2 separate regions of the Homo sapiens genome follow, and region 1 is linked to region 2. Evidence: promoter capture Hi-C in human tissues and cell types (Jung and others, 2019). All regions are on one chromosome and are shown on one strand. The core of a region is centred on a gene start or on the middle of the fragment in contact, and the rest is flanking DNA. Distances in the headings are between cores, read along the strand shown.

Region 1 (4,956 bases), core at 391-2,890, 1.9 Mb after region 2:
CCACTTTCTAGTGGAAGCTACTATTTATATTAATCTCTATTCGGACCTTATATGAGAATTTATGTTCCTTTATGTAATTTGAAAACTGCAGGGATGTAAATAGTATTAATTATATAATTTTCACTTCTCTATCCTCATCTGGATTTAATGTACTGATTTAATATGTGTAAATATATTATAGATTTAATATATTTATTAAATATATTAAATATATTTTTAAAATATTTTTGCAAACATTTGTAAAAATATTTAATTTACAAATAGTATTGTATATATTCAAAGTATACAATGCAATGCTTTGATATACACACACACACACACACACATATATATATATAGTATATTGAATATCACAATCAAATTAATTAACACATCCATCACCACCCATACTGGACATTATATCCCTAGAACTAATTCATTGTATAAGTAAAATGTTGTGCCTTTGATCAACATCTCTCCATTCCCCCTACCCCTCAGCCCCTGGAAGCTATTGTTCTACTTCTGCTTCTATAAGTTTAACTTTTTTAGATACCACAAATAAGTGAGACCATGTTATATTTGTATTTCTGTGTCTGTCATATTTCACTAGGTGTAACGTCCTCTAGTTTCACCTATGTTGTCACAGATAACCAGATTTCTTTTATGGCTGAATAATATTCCATTGTATCTCCCTTTCTCTCTCTCTCTCCTCTCTCTCCTCTCTCTCTCTCTTTTTCTCTCTCTGTGTGTGTGTGTGTGTGTGCGTGCATACATACATATAGATTGCATTTTCTTTCTTCACTCATCCACTGATGGCCACTTTGCTTGTTTTCATATTTTGATTATTGTGAACAATGCTACAATGAACATGAGGGTGCAGACTCCTTGTATTAGTTCATTTTCATGCTGCTTATAAAGACATACCTGAGACTGGGCAATGTACAAAAGAAAGAAGTTTAATTGGACTCACAGTTCCTTGAGGCTGGGGAGGCCTCACAATCATGATGGTAGGCAAGGAGGAGCAAGTTACATCTTACGTGGATGCCAGCAGGGAAAGAGAGAGCTTGTGCTGGGCAACTGGTGCTTTTAAAACCATGAGATCTCCTGAGACCTATTCACTATCATGAGAACAACATGGGAAAAACCTGCCCTCATAATTCAATCATCTTCCACCAGGTCCCTCTCACAACATGTGGGAATTATGGGAGCTACAAGATGAAATTTGGGTGGGGACACAGAGCAAAACTATATCACACCTTTTCAATGTACATATTTCATTTCTTTTTTATTGCTTGATCATATGGTAGTCCTATTTTAAAAATTGTCAGCAGACCCTATACTGTTTCATAATGGATGTACCAATTTACATTACTACCAGAAGTGTACAAGGATCCCTTTTATCCACACTTTTGCTAACACTTATCCTTTTTTCATTTGGATAATAGCCATCCTAACAAGCATGACAAGTATGAAGTGATATTTTGTTTGATTTGCATATTCTTAATGATTAGCGATATTTAGTACCTTTTTCATATACCAGATCATTTATTTGCTTTCTTTGGGAAGCTGTCTATTCAGGACCTTTGCTCATTTTAAAATATTATTATTATTATTTTGTTACAAAGTTGTGTGAGTTCCATATGTATTTCGGATATTAATCCCTTGTCAGATATATGGTTTGCAAATATTTTCTCGCATATCTTAGGTGGCCTTTTAATTTTGTTTGTTTCTTTAGCTCTATAAAAGCTTTGTAGTTTAATGTAACCCTACTTGTTTACTTTTGCTTTTGTTTCCTGTGCTTTTGGTGTCATATACAAAAAAAGTTATTACCAAGACTGACACGCTTTGGATTTGTGTCCCTGCCAAAATCTCATGTCAAATTGGAGGAGGGGCCAAGTGTGAGGTGATTGGATTATGGGGACAGACTTCAGCCTTGCTGTTCTCCTGATAGTGAGTGAGTTCTCACAAGATCTGATGGCTTAAAACTGTGTGGCAGTTCTTGCTTCACTCTCTCTCTCTCCTGATGCCATATGAAGAAGATCCTTGCCTCTCCTCACCTTCCACCATGATTGAAAGTTTTGTGAGGCCTCACAGTCATGTTTCCTGGAAAGCCTGTGGAACTGTCAGTGAATTAAATTTTTCTTCACAAATTACCCAGTCTCAGGTAGTTCTTTACAGCAGTGTAAAAATGGACTAACACAGAAAATTGGTACCAGGGGAGTGTGGCACTGCTATAAAGACACCTGAAAATGTGAAAAGAAACTGTGAAACTGGGTAATGGGCAGAGGTTAGAAGGGTTTGGAGGGCTCTGAAAAAGACAGAAAGATGTGGGAAAGTTTGAAACTTCCCAGGGACTTGTTGAATGATTGTGACCAAATGCTAATGGTGATAAGGACAATAAAGTCCAGGCTGATGTGGTTTCAGATGGAGATGAGGAATTTACTGAGAACTGGAGTAAGGGTCACTCTTGCTATGCTTTAGCAAAGAGATTGGTGGCCTTGTGCCCCTGCCCCAGGAATCTGTGCAACTTTGAACTTGAGAGAGATGATTTAGGGTGTCTGGTGGAAGAAATCTTTGAGCAGCAAAGCATTCAAAATGTGCCCTGGCTGCTCATAACAGCATACAGTCATATGCATTCACAGAGAGATGTCTGAAATTGGAACTTATGTTTAAAAGGGAAGCAGAGCATAAAAGTTTGGAAAGTTTGTAGCCTGAGTATGTTTCAGAAAAGAAAAACCCATTTTCTGAAAAGAAATTCAAGCCTCCTGCAGAAACTTGCATAAGTAAATGAGGAGCTAAACGTTAATAGCCATGACAATGGGGAAAATGTCTCCAGGGCATTTCCGAGATCTTTGCAGCACCCTCTCCCATAACAGGCCTGGAGGCCTAGGAGGGAACAATGGTTTCGCAGGCCGGGCCCAGGTCCCTGCTTCTCTTTGCAGCCTTGGAACATGGCACACTGTGTCCCAGTTGCTCCAGCTCCATCCATGGCTAAAGGGGGCCAAGGTATATAGCTCAGGCCATTGCTTCAGAAGGTGCAAGCCCAAAGCTCTGACAGCTTCCATGTTGTATTGGGCCTGCAGGTGCACAGAAGGCAAGAGTTGAGGCTTGGAAACCTATGCTTGGATTTCAGAGGATGTATGGAAAGACCTGGATGTCCAGGCAGAAGTCTGCGGCAGAGGTGGAACCCTCTTGGAGACCCTCTACTAGGGCAGTGCAGAGGGGAAATGTGGGGTTGGAGACCCCAAACATAGTCCCCCCTGGGGCATTGCCTAGTGGAGCTGTGAGAAGAGGGACACTGTTCTCCAGACCCCAGAATAGTAGGTCCACCAACAGCTTGCACCATGCACCTGGAAAAGCTGCAAGCACTCAACACCAACCCATGAAACAGCTGTGGGTGCTGTACCCTGTACAGCCACAGAGGCAGAGCTGCCAAAGGCCTTGGGAGCCTACCTCTTGCATCAACGTGCCCTGGATGTGAGACATGGAATCAGAGGAGATTATTTTTGAGCTTTAAGATTTAATGACTGCCTTCTGGGTTTCGGACTTGCATGGGCCCTGTAGAGCCTTTGTTTTGGCCAATTTCTCCCAGGTGGAATAGAAGCATTTATCCAATGCCTGTAACCCAGTTGTATCTTGGAAGTAACTAACTTGTTTATTTTTGCTATTGTTTCCTGTGCTATTGGTGTCATATACTAAAATATTATTACCAAGACCAATGGCAAAGAACTTCTTTCCTATATTTTCCCTGAAAATTTCACAATTTCTGATCTGACATTTAAGTCTTTAATCCATTTCAGGTTAACGTTTATATATGGTTTAAGAAAAGGGTCTAAATTTATTCTTTTCCACATGAACATCCATTTTTCAAAAATATTTATTGAAGAGGCTTTCTTCATTGTGTATTTGTAGCATCATTTTCAAAGATTAGTTTACTATATATGCATGGGTTTATTTCCGGGTTCTGTATTCTGTTTCATTTGTCTATATGTCTGCCCTTATGCCTGTACCACGCTGTTTTGATTACTATAGTTTTGCAGTATAGTTTGAAATTAGGGCGTGTCATCCCACTGACTTTGTTATATTTTCTTAAAATTGCTTTGACTGTTTGGGGTCCAATACAAATTTTGTTATTTTTTTCTATTTCTGTGAAAAATGTCATTGGAATTTTGATAGCAACTTCATTGAATCTATAAATTAAGAATTATGGATATTTTAACATTCTTAATCTAATTCATGTACATGGGATCTAGTTATTTATTTGTTTCTTCAATTTATTTTGTCAATATTTTCTAGTTTTAAGTACAGTTTTTTCACTTCCTTAGTTAAATTCATTTTTAAATATTTCATAATTTTCAATACTATCATAAATTGGATTGTTTTATTAATTTATTTTTTGAATAATCTACTGTTAATGTAAAGAAATGCAACTGATTTTTGTACGCTGATTTTGCATTCTGAAATTTTACTGAACTTTGTCGTTAATTCTGACAGTTTTTTGGTGGAGTCTTTAGGGTTTTCCCTATATAAGATTATTGCATCTTCAGAGACAGTTTAACTTTGTCTTCCTATTTGGATACCTTTTATTTCTATTTCTTGCCTAATCTTTCAAGCTAGGGCTTCCAATACCAGTTGAATAGAAGCTGTGAGAGTGAATTTCCTTGCCTTCTTCCTAATCTTAAAGGGAAAACTTTCAGCTTTAATCATGAAGTATGATGCTAGCTGTGGCCTTGTAATATGTGTCCATTATTATGTTGAGACAAATTCTTCTCTATCATATTTGCTGACAGTTGTAATCAGAAAAGAATGTTTAATTTTTACAAATGATTTTTCTGCATCTATTGAGATGATTATATGATTTTTATCATTCAGTCTGTTAATGTGATATATCACATTTATTGATTTGTATGTTGAAATAACCTTGCATTTCAGGGATAAATCCCACTTGATCATCATGAGTAATATTTTAAGTGAGCT
Region 2 (4,326 bases), core at 100-2,599:
GAATGAATTATTTTTTTGAAAATTATTTATTGAGCATTTACTGTGTTTAGCACTTTACTAGATGCTATATTATACCCACTTGGAGCTTATGGTCTAGTAAGGGGATTTACAGTGTAGGGAGACAGACCGAGGAATAAATAAATAAATGTTAATACAAATGCTATGCAGCAAATGAAGAAGGTATTGTGAAAAAGGAAAAAAGAGCATGAGATAGACAGGATTGCCTTAGATGGTCACTATAGGCCTCTAAGGAGATGACACATGGGCTGAAGTCCCAGGGATGAAGAACTAGTCAAACGCATCTCAGTCTGTTCAGAATTTAAAAGTGACTCTTAAAGCTAAGGCAAGGTATGTGTAGTGTGTATGGACCACCTACAGTCAGATATACGGAGGTGTGTGACCTCTAACCCTGACCCACTGAATCAATATCTGGAGGTTCTGGGGTTACAAATTTCATTTACTAAAAAACTTAACAGGAGATTTCAGTTACTGAAGAAGTTTAAGAAGCACTGAGAGTTGTAACACGTCTTAATGTTCCATCAGCTCTTCCTGAGTTATATTGTTCCTCAGATCCCGTTATGCTCCATTGCTAAAAGGAAACATGGCCGGGCGCGGTGGCTCACGTCTGTAATCCCAGCACTTTGGGAGGCCGAGGCGGGTGGATCGCGAGGTCAGGAGTTCAAGACCAGCCTGGCCAATATGGTGAAACCCCGTCTCTACTGACGGTTTCAGCCATCCGGCGGGGGGTTCCTGGAATGCATCCTTGTGGGTAAGTGGGGAGCTGTGTGTACATTATGACCACTCCCGTAACCAAACCTAGCGTTTGACAAAGGCCTCAATTACAGCGGCATTCATTACCGTGAATGACAGCCAAAGTCAAAGTTTGGGGTGGGGATACTATTTTGAATTAGGCCATAACATTATATTGCTCATAAGCTTCATTTCGACCAACATTATATACATACAAAAAGTATGTACCGTAAGGACACACATCAAGCTGGACCGCAGGAAAAAAAACCACAACTTAGGATTTACCTAGTCAGCCGCTACTAGAGAGCAAGCACCGCGCAAGGCCGCTGGGGCTCGTGCTGTGGACGTGAGTGGGTTGAGGTCGGGCTGGTGGGGTAACCCGGGATCCAGCCGGAAAAAAGGGATAACGCTAGACTCACACTCCTAAGGAAGGCCAACGCCCCAACTAGCGAGCTCCGCAATGCATCTCTTCCAGGAAGCGTGGCCGGGCGCACGTCGCGCTGCGCTTGCGCACTGAGGTTTCGCGTAAGGAACCAATAGGACGGAGGAGTGGGCGGGCTGTTGGCAGAAACCCGGATTCCGGTTCCGGTGGGCCTCCATCAGCAAGCTCCAGTGCTACGTGTCCCTGGCATTTTAGGTGTCGGTTGGGTAGGTGAGTTTCTTCCCACCGGTCGGTACGGGCGAACGGGGCGGCCACACCTTTGCGACTCTTGGGGGCAGCGGGCGTGGGCGAGCCGGCGTGTCTCCCCGGGCGGCCGTCGCGGGGCGGGCGGTAAGTGGTCCCCTGGCTCAGGGCCGGGGTCTGGCCGCCGACATCCCACCAACTCGGCCTCTGGCGGAAGGCAGACCCAGGGCCGCGGACTCCCGGCGAGCTGGGTGGCCGGCCCGCGGGGCTCCAGGGCTTAGCGTCCTGCCCCGGCGTCTTCTGTGCTGCAGCCAAAGATGATGTCCTGCTGCCCGATCCCTTCGGGGTTGGCTCTGTGTGCTGTTGTGGAGTCCTGTCTGGGAAGAGCTGTACTCAGCTCTGGTCCTGCCGCCGCTTCCGTGGTTTAAAGTGAGAGCATTGGTCTAGAGTCTAGTTCGAGAGATCATAGTTGGTTTTTGGATCTCTACCCCTGACATTGAGTGCGGTATTGTGTGTAGCGTGCGTTTTTCTGGATAAAGAATTCTTAGCTTCCTTCGTGACAACTATGATTACAAAAAGTTTAAGCCCTTTGGATTTCAAGAGCAAAGTTGAGTGAAATACTGAGAAAACAGACATTACTGTGTTTTTGCCCCCAGAACGTTGCAGAATTCCTGGTGTTTCATTGACATTATTTCATTTCGTTGTCCACACCCTACACTAAGGAAGGCAACTGGGGCTTACAGAGGTTTACATTCCATAGCCAGTGATTTGAACTACCACCTGGCCACTGTTCTGAGTACTGGAAATGGAGGAAAATACAAATAACACCCTGGCTGCTTTACTTACTATAGCAGTGGCTCTCAAAGCTAAGATCGGATAACATTTCTATTGGGTAATAGATTCCTCAAAAGAACCTGTATGGTAAAATATATAGCCCTGTTTCCTTAAAAGATGTGTTCAAATCGAAAAGTTTGAAATTTAGCTAGTAGCTTCTCAGAATTTGCGTCTTCCTTTAGCCATTCTTTATACTTTAGAAAAGTATGTTGTATTGGCACGTTTTAGAAAAATCAAGGTTGAAATTCACGTTTGCCTCTATTCTAGGCTCTTGCAGCACCGTAGTTGGCATTCACTGTACAAGACACTGGCTTCTGCGTAGTTTAAAATAAAATATGGAAAGTAATTGTTGGATCTCAACACTGATGGTTCCTTAGGAGCGGTGAGGGGACTGTAGAATGAGAAATGGATGGGACTGCAGAGTGAGAAAAGGAATGGATGTGTTACCAATTGCGTAACCTTTTTTAACCTTTTAATAGAGATAGGCTTTTTATATTGCGTGTGCTGTTCTTTGTCAGTGAAGATATCATGAGTAAGATCTGTGCTTTTCTTATTGCCTTTGATAATTAACTGAAATTTCCAAAAATAATATCAATTTAGGCTTTGGAGTTTGTTTTTTGTTTTATTTTAGGAGGTGGAATTGACCCATGTTAGACGTGAATTCAGTGGCTGGTCTCATTTACATCTTTATATAAATGAGCAAGTGCTTATTGTATGAGAACCAATACCAGTGAGTATCTTTTTTGTTTTAAACAGGCAGTCATGGATCAGGTAATGCAGTTTGTTGAGCCAAGTCGGCAGTTTGTAAAGGACTCCATTCGGCTGGTTAAAAGATGCACTAAACCTGATAGAAAAGGTAATTGCTTGACTATGAGAGAAAAAATTAAATCTTTGCATTTTCTAAGCCTTTTGTTTGATTAACATCTTGATTAATAGCCCTTGCATTACTTTGATCAACATTTTTATTGATTGATCCTGCGCGACAGCTTTTTAACGTTGTCACTTCTTCCTAAATTTTTTACTCGTCTAAATTTTTATGTATTTTCAAATGGTGTAAGATTATTTATTACAGCCTTATGTTCCATGTAACATTTTAGTTAGTAACATTTTATGACTTTTAGTATCTTACATATTTTCTCTTTGGAAAAGCTTTGAAGTCTCCCTACTCAGCTCCCACCCCAACGAACAAAACCTTAACATGAAACCAACAATATAGTTTTTGCCAAACTAGAAAGTTAATTTTGTTATTTATCATGATTCATGTGTTAAATTTGTCTACTTTTATTCATTCATTGAGTTAGGAGCTGGTAATATAATAGAGAATATAACATGTATATAATATAGTATATAGTATATAATATAGTATATAGTATATAGTATATATAGTATATAGTATATATATAGTATAGTATATAGTATATAATATAGTATATAACATGTATATATTATAGTAAAGAGAATAGTCCTTGCTGTCATGGAGCTTAGACTCTTACCAAGGAAGACTGTCATAAACAAATTATTGCGGTTATATTTTTTAATTACTGCTGTGTTAAGTATTATGGAAGATAACTAGAAGGAAGTTTGACAGCACATAATAGGAGGACTAACCAAGTCAGGAGATCAGGGAAAGCTTCTCTTAGGAAGTAACATAAAATGACAACATTACCAGTGTAATGTTTTATAAAATTGTGCTCAACTCAGACAGAGTCTCACTCTGTTGCCCAGGCTGAAGTGCAGTGACGCGATCTCGGCTCACTGCAACCTCCGCCTCCTGGGTTCAAGCAATTCTGCCTCAGCCTCCTGAGTAGCTGGGATTACAGGCATGCGCCACCACGCCCGGCTAATTTTTGTATTTTTAGTGGAGCCAGGGTTTCACCATGTTGGCCAGGCTGGTCTTAAACTCCTGACCTCGGGTGATCTGCCCACTTCGGCCTCCCAAAGTGCTGAGATTACAGGCACAAGCCACTGGGCCCAGCCCAGTTTGATTTTTCAAGTCTTATTTTTGGCTTCATCATAATAGCAAAGGCACCGGACCCATCGTTTATAATGTACCCAAAAAAGGTATGTTTCTGCCCATATAATTGATATGTTATGATAAAAATTACAATGTTACATTT

The links. The method cuts DNA at HindIII sites, captures the fragments that hold promoters and counts their contacts. A contact is called where the count stands out against the background at its distance.
Region 1: a contact is called between a fragment that was not itself captured here and the fragment with the promoter of SEC61G in region 2, in 1 of the 25 tissues and cell types used here (dorsolateral prefrontal cortex).

Annotation. Positions count from the first base shown.
Region 1 is chr7:52,819,994-52,824,949 of GRCh38, reverse strand. No RefSeq gene overlaps it. Among named protein-coding and RNA genes, the nearest start is that of POM121L12, 210 kb to the left of the region's middle. The HindIII fragment of the contact is 5,936 bases long and covers 1-4,608 here.
Region 2 is chr7:54,756,234-54,760,559 of GRCh38, reverse strand. SEC61G (SEC61 translocon subunit gamma) reads left to right here and starts at 1,349. Exons shown (of 4, transcript NM_014302.4): 1 at 1,349-1,402; 2 at 2,966-3,065. The coding sequence starts at 2,972. It overlaps SEC61G-DT (SEC61G divergent transcript), which reads right to left and starts at 1,247. Exons shown (of 3, transcript NR_110040.1): 1 at 1,036-1,247. RefSeq lists an enhancer at 211-1,146 and a silencer at 1,380-1,699. The HindIII fragment of the contact is 11,909 bases long and covers 1-2,147 here.